2 separate regions of the Homo sapiens genome follow, and region 2 is linked to region 1. The links are contacts of gene promoters, found by promoter capture Hi-C in human tissues and cell types (Jung and others, 2019). All regions are on one chromosome and are shown on one strand. The core of a region is centred on a gene start or on the middle of the fragment in contact, and the rest is flanking DNA. Distances in the headings are between cores, read along the strand shown. Region 1 holds the start of CLDN1 (claudin 1). Region 2 has its middle 71 kb from the start of P3H2-AS1.

Evidence for each region. The method cuts DNA at HindIII sites, captures the fragments that hold promoters and counts their contacts. A contact is called where the count stands out against the background at its distance.
Region 2: a contact is called between a fragment that was not itself captured here and the fragment with the promoter of CLDN1 in region 1, in 1 of the 25 tissues and cell types used here (lymphoblastoid cells).

Annotation. Positions count from the first base shown.
Region 1 is chr3:190,320,669-190,324,465 of GRCh38, reverse strand. It overlaps CLDN1 (claudin 1), which reads left to right and starts at 2,020. Exons shown (of 4, transcript NM_021101.5): 1 at 2,020-2,482. The coding sequence starts at 2,260. It also overlaps a transcript of CLDN16 not described here. RefSeq lists a silencer at 1,870-2,029. The HindIII fragment of the contact is 5,719 bases long and covers 138-3,797 here.
Region 2 is chr3:190,190,376-190,194,183 of GRCh38, reverse strand. No RefSeq gene overlaps it. Among named protein-coding and RNA genes, the nearest start is that of P3H2-AS1, 71 kb to the right of the region's middle. RefSeq lists an enhancer at 1,071-1,260. The HindIII fragment of the contact is 5,895 bases long and covers 1-3,808 here.

The DNA.
Region 1 (3,797 bases), core at 771-3,270:
TGTTGCCCAGGCTGGAGTGCAGTGGCACGATCTGGGCTCACTGCCACCTCCGCCTCCCGGGTTCAAGCAATTCTCCTACCTCAGCCTCCCAAGTAGCTGGAATTACAGGCGCCCACCACCATGCCCGGCTAATTTTCATATTGTTAGTAGAGACGGGGTTTCACCATGTTGGCCAGGCTGATCTCGAACTCCTGATCTCAAGTGATCCGCCTGCCTCAGCCTCCCAAAGTGTTGGGATTACAGGCGTGAGCCACTGCGCCTGGCCTGAGCCACCGTGCCCGGGTGTTTAATAATACTTTTAATTCTTAAATGTTTGGAACAAAAAAAAGAAGAAAATGAGATTATATGATTCACATGGTACTGCTCTAGTCCTGCAGCAAATTCCAGTGCCTTCTCTGATCAGGGAATTTTTACAAAATCAAATGTGATTGATACATCTTCATCCACACTGACAGGCACCCACAGAACATCCACTGAGACCTAGACAGTAGTACTGACTGCAGGCCCTAACCCTGGGATACAACACGAACATGGTCTTGTCCTAAACAGCTGATAGGAGAAAGACAGTATTCACTGTGTTAATCTCAGTCCAAATTAATTGTCTTCATCTAGCTCCTGTCTTACATTCTTCATTGCTTGTCCCTAAATCCTAGCACGGCCAAGTCCTTTAGTTTTAAGCCTACATGAAAGGCATCCAGGGAGAGCCAGGTGGAAATGAAGGTGGTGGGGCTTGGCCTTTCTTCCCATTCCCACCTTGAGAATTTGCACCTTTCCTTCTCTGTCACCAACTAGCAGTTGCCATGGTATATAAGGGTATATCTTATTTTATCCTTAATATGTTTATTTCTGCTTCCAAGATGCTTCTGTTTTTACTAAAACCATAGAAGCTTCCCCTCCCACCACACTCGCACCACACACAAAAAGCAGTTGGAAAAACATTTCAATGATTCCTAACCACAACAGCACTTCTGACTAACTACAAAGAAGGAAGCTTTGGAGAAACATAGAGGGAAACTACAGTCCCAGCGAGACCGAAACCGGAGGGGTGAGATAGCCAGTCACAGTAAAAGCTGGAACCAGAGCCCAGACTTCCTCAACTCCAGCCCAGTCCTTTTGCCACTGGGGAAACGCTGTTTACATGTCCTCACCTGCGACGAACAACATTTGATAACTCACAAAATTAACACCTTTCAGGGAGAGCGGGGCACTGGCCAGGTCCCTCTGATAATGAATTGCTGCTCTAAGACATAACTGCTGTGGGGAGGAGGTTGGTGTTTGGCGGGGAAGGGCTGCTAGCCTGCAGTTTCATAAGGACAATAATACATCAAAAAGGACAATCATAGATCAAAGGGGATATTTTGGGTCAACTTGATATGTAGTGGAAAGCAGATTGGGAGGGGAGCCAAGTACTGGATATGCTCCGTGCGTGAGTGTGTCTGTGTGTGTGTGTGTGTGTGTGTGTAAATCATGTTGCTCTCTGGGTCTGTTTCCCAATCTGTAGAGTGTAAAAGTCTCTGAGGCTCCTTGCAGAGACAAGTGATGGAACGACCTTGACAGAAGAGAGCAGAGAGAGGAAAGAAGGGGGAGGAAGCCAAGCAAAGGAGAGAGAAATGGTGTGATGGGGGAGGAGACGCGGAGTTGGGTAGAAATGCCTTTTAATAAGATATTGGGAAAAAAGTATTAAACCTAAAACTGCAGCTCTTGAAGGATCATTTTTTCATCTTTGTGTTAGGATTTACAAGTACAGTGCATAGTAATTTTTGGATAATTGGAGTGAATGAATGAAAAGCGTGAAACGCCTTACAGGAGCGAGAAGATCCACGAGAGAAAGCGAGCAGGGACGCAGCTCTGGTGCCTGGTCCTGCCGGGTGGTCCCCACGCCGCCAGCCGCGCGTTCCCCAACCGGGCGCTCCCGGCGCCCTCTCGGTGAGCCGCCCTGAAACCGCCAGGGGGCGCTCCCCGGCTGCCGGGGCTGAGGCGGGCGGAGCTGCTTTAAATCGCGGCGCCCAGCGGTTCTGCGTCTCAGTTCCCGAGCCTGGGAGCAACCGCAGCTTCTAGTATCCAGACTCCAGCGCCGCCCCGGGCGCGGACCCCAACCCCGACCCAGAGCTTCTCCAGCGGCGGCGCAGCGAGCAGGGCTCCCCGCCTTAACTTCCTCCGCGGGGCCCAGCCACCTTCGGGAGTCCGGGTTGCCCACCTGCAAACTCTCCGCCTTCTGCACCTGCCACCCCTGAGCCAGCGCGGGCGCCCGAGCGAGTCATGGCCAACGCGGGGCTGCAGCTGTTGGGCTTCATTCTCGCCTTCCTGGGATGGATCGGCGCCATCGTCAGCACTGCCCTGCCCCAGTGGAGGATTTACTCCTATGCCGGCGACAACATCGTGACCGCCCAGGCCATGTACGAGGGGCTGTGGATGTCCTGCGTGTCGCAGAGCACCGGGCAGATCCAGTGCAAAGTCTTTGACTCCTTGCTGAATCTGAGCAGTGAGTGCACCCCCACCTCACAGCGGCCGTCCAGAGGCCCCAGTCCCCCTGCAGCTCCCTTATGGGCTCATTCTGTTGTGTGATTCCATGGTTATCAGTCTTCAGTTGATCAAGTCTTCTGATCATGTGCTCTGTCATAAGGAAATGAAGAGAATCCTGGTTTGAGGAAAGCGACGCCCAGGCATAAGCTCTAGTTTTGCCTCTAACTCCCTGGGTGACACTTCTGCCACTCTAGGTGTGGCTTCATCCTAAATTCCTATGCTGGTGGTTCGAGTTGAGGGAGTGAAGGCCAAACTTGAACTTGAGCTCTTAGACCTCTCCTAGGCATTCCGAGATTTGGGGTAAATTGAGGATTGGTAGAGTTCAGACAAGAAAATGGGATGACTGAAAAAGTTTGAAGCCTGGTAACTTCTCAAGTGTGCACGCTTAAATAAATAATCCTCAAGTATTAGATATAACTTTTTAACCTTTAATATGATTTTTTCATAGTAAAAGTTACATTCCTACTGGAAATGTCCTATCTAAGTGTCTTCTGCTTATGCTTGAGGTTGATTCTTTTAATTTATAAGATCCAGTTAGTGCAGGGAGGCCCCTTGCAAGACTCTTTGGAGAAGCTGCTTGAGATTCCCCCGAAGTTTTAATTTTCAGACCCAAGGTCTTCTGTAGAGGCTGACGGTGTAGTGCTATCTTGGAAAGAGAAGGTTGGTGGCAGGTGGGGAAAGGCTGACAAGAAAGGTTCTAAATAACCTGCGCAACATAATACAAAGAAAAAAGTAAAGGCACTGAAGGGAAATGCAGCAAAATAGTCATAGCTGATGAAATCAGAGGTCAGCTGGGAGTGGAAGGCAGTGAGAGAGAAAGAAGAGGTGGGTCTTCCTTAGGTTTCCATCTTCCACAAAGAAATTTCTGTGTAATGGATGTTCAGTGACCCCCTGTAAAACTGGAAAGGATTGTATAGAGAGACATATTTCTAAGGATGGTGGGAAGAAGGATAATAGGATAATTGTTTTACTTTGTTTTTTAAATTAAAGGTTTCGAGTTCCTTGTCCGAAAAGTCATTAAATTCCCATTTACTTAGATAATAATGATTCACGGCTGGAGTATCTTCCTTGAGAAATCACATTAATTGTCTTATATCATGTGTCTGTTATGCCCTTTAACTCACTTGAAGAAAAGATCCCTTAGTCTTTGCCTAGATGAACGTGACTGCCCACTGGCCCCCATTGCATGCTAAGGGTGAAAAGTGTTGGCATTGTTCAAGTTTACTTAACTTGTTTTGTCTACCTCCTATCAAGGGACAACTTTTAATAGTGTA
Region 2 (3,808 bases), core at 1,304-3,803, 130 kb after region 1:
TGGCTGACTCCAAAGCCTGCACTCTATAAAGAGGCGGTTTTACGTAATGAAAAGAGCACTTTATAAGGAGTCAGATAATCTGGATCCAACTTCTTTCTCTGCCACTTATTTGCTGTGAAATCTGCATTGTCATTTAATCTGTCTACTGACTTGCTTATATGTAAAATTGGATTATAATAAATTTATTTACTACAGGGATTTTCAGTAGAAATCAAAGGAATTCATATATATAAGAGCTTTTAATGCCCTATTCTATGTAAAATTTAATTACTATTTGTATTTCTTTCAGAGCCTCCATTTTCTCACTTATAAATTTGAGATAATACTGGTCCTGCATAGCTCACATGGATGTTGGGAGAAACAATCAAGATCCTCTAGGGATGATCACTCTATAAACCGGAAACTTGATGTACAAATGAGGTAGTATGCACACAATCACCTTAGATAGTAGTAGTACCCCTTATCCACAGCGGGTATGTTCCAAGGACCCCGGCGGTGCCTGAAACCTCAGCACCAAGCCCTATATATATTGTTTTTTTTCCGATACATACAAACCTATGATAAAATTTCATTTATAAACTAGGTAAACACAACAGCAATCAAATGGAACAATTATAACAATAGGCCAGCATCACTACCCTTGTGCTTTGGAACCATTATTAAGTAAAATTGGGGTCATTTGAATACAAGCACCTGACACTGTGACAATCTGATAACCAAAAGGGTGAAGTGACTAGTGAGTGTGCAGCATACACAGCGTGGATACCCTCGACAAAAGGATGACTCACGCCCTGGGTGGGATGGTGTGAGGTTTTTGTCATGCTACTCAGAACAGCTTGCAATTTTAAACGTATGCATTGTTTATTTCTAGAATTTTGTATTTATTATTTCTGGACTGTGGGTAACTGAAAGCATGGAAAGCAAAAACACAGGTAAGAGGGAACTACTGTAATTCTAATATGCTGTAAGGGGTTATAGTGATTACTGTTAATTCTTCTGAGACTAGTAACATGTATCGCTTTTTAATATCCTTCAAATTTATTAGGTTCCCTCAATTGCTTGTAGCTTATATTTTCCAAATGACTTGGCATAGAACTTTCTCCTAGCTGGCTCTCCTCCGCCCATCCCCTCTGCCACTATAAAACAAGATGATGCCATTATGAAAGTAGCAGCGTGTTCTCAGAATGACCTGCCCAAGTCAGGGCCTCATGTATTACATATCCTAAGACCTGCACATGCATTAATACTATAAAAGAGGTTTTGTGAGAGAGACAAATACAAACACCATGAGGTCACTTCTTCCAGAGTATAACAGGATGCAGACTCTTGGAAGAAATTGTATAAATGTCCTCTTGGAAAATTTTGTCTCTGAGTACAGAGCACATTATAAATTTTTCCAAAGCTTTCCAACATACAGTACATCAAACAGTGTGCCTTTTCTTTTCTTTCCTTTTTCTCTCATACTCCCTCTCTCTCTTTTTAAATACTTCTATTTTCAGAGAAAAGAGGAAAACCTGGGAGGAGCTTTCAGTTACTAATTATTTCCAGCATCAATGTTTGGTCTTAAAGCCATAGTTCGTTTGTAGAGAGGACAATGTAATGGTTCCAGAAATCTAGGTCCTAGTCCTACTTGCCCAGCTGGGTGAACAGTTCAGTTTTTTCAGCCATCTTCATGTGCCAAGGAGGACAGTAGGACATGCAGTTATATGAACACTGAAGTGGAAATCAGGAGACCTGAAATTTATTAAACAATTCTACAAACAATGGTAATGTGATGAAATAACTATTTTCAATCAAGTGTACTAGTTTCCTGGTGCCATGTGGTGGAGGCTCCATGAACAGTTGTTGAATGAATGACTAGGTAAACAATCATGAATACATAAATGCCTAGTATATACAATAGTCAATCAACAGTGAGCAGAATTTCGAGGAGGCATTGTGATCACTGTACTTACAGGCTGCAGGGAGTACTGATGGAAGTGTGTAACTTGTTGTGGGAACAAAGGGATGACTCCAGGGGAAATGTAAGGGCTATGAGTTAACTCAGGTCTGTTGCTGCTACTAAATTATGCTGCCTGCTATTGTGAGTGAATCGCCCTCTCTGAGCCCCGGTTTCTTTACCTATAAATGAAGTGCTTGGACTAGATAATCTCTAAGAACACTTCCATCTCTGTAGGTTTACTTGTATAGTGCAGCACATAACAACTTAGGAACCCTAGACTTAGAATTTTCGGTTAACACTCAAAGCTAAGTCCTCACACCAGGAAGAAGATATCAAACACATAAGAAACTGTACGGCCGGGCGCGGTGGCTCACGCCTGTAATCCCAGCACTTTGGGAGGTCAAGGCAAGTGGATCAACTGAGGTCGGGAGTTCGAGACCAGCCTGACCAACATGGAGAAACCCCGTCGCTACTAAAAATCCAAAAAGTTAGCTGGGCGTGGTGGTGCATGCAGGTAATCCCAGCTACTCAGGAGGCTGAGGCAGGAGAATTGCTTGGACCCAAGAGGTGGAGGTTGCAGTGAGCTGAGATCGCACCATTGCACTCTAGCCTGGGCAACAAGAGCAAAATGCCATCTCAAAAAATAAAGAAATAAATAAAAATTTAAAAATACAAAGTAAATTGTACAGTTTTTTTCTTATACACAGTAGTGCTATATTTCCTTTGGTGTTTTAGTCAAGGGTTTGACTGCTTGGTTAACTATTGAGTCAATTTCCAGAAATACTATATTTGTTTAAGATCTTTGACTTCCATCCTAGCATCTAGATAATTAATTTTCTTTCATTAAGAGCCTCAAAGACGGTCATTGTTGGCCTTCAGTCTTTATTTTTGACCAATAGTTTTCATTCATGACTGCACATTAATGTCATCTGTGCAGTTTTTAAAACCCATCCAGGCTCTATTCTCTGAGATTCTGATTTAATTGGAGTGGAGTCTAGACATCATTTGTTTGTTTGTTTTTTAATGCTATTCAGGCGATTCTACTCCATACTCAGGACTGATTACTACCACGCTGGAACAGTGCTTCTTAAATTATTGTGTGCAAATGGGCCAGCTAAGAATCTTGTTAAAAATGAAGATTCTGATTCACTGGGTCTGAACTCAGGGTCTGAGGTTCTGTGTTTGTAATAAACTCCCAGGTTACGTTGGTGCTCTGACCTCTGCTCCTAGAAGTGTGGTCCATGGACCAAGATCATCTGGAAGGTAGACAGAATGCAGAATCTCAGGTACCACCCCAGAAGTACTGGATTGATCGGGGTTCTCCAAAGAATTGGCTCACAAAATTATGGAGTCTGACAATTCCCAAAATATGCTGTCAGCAGGCCGGAGACCCAAGAGAGCCAATGGTATAGTTTCAGTGTGAAGGGCTATAGGCTCAAGACCCAAGATGCTTCAGTTTTAGTTCGAAGGAATACATCAATTGATATGCCAGCTCAAGACAGTTAGGCAGGAGGAAATTCACTGCTACTCATGAAAGGTTCAGCCTTTACTTCTATTGAGGTCTTCAACTGATTGAATGTGCCCCATTCATGTTAGAGGGCAACCCGCTTTATTTTTTATTCAGTTCAATTATTCAAATGTTAATCTCATCCAAAAGCACCCTCATGGACACACCCAAAATAATGTTTGATCAAATATCTGGGCACCCCAGTGTGCTAGTCAAGTTGACATAAAATGAACCATCGCACCTAGAGAATCAGCATGCGGTTTAACATATTATACATATGCAGAAATTTAATACACATACTAAAGTTTAAGAAGCTCTGCACTATAATAACTATTCTCAAACTTTTTGGTCTCTTGACC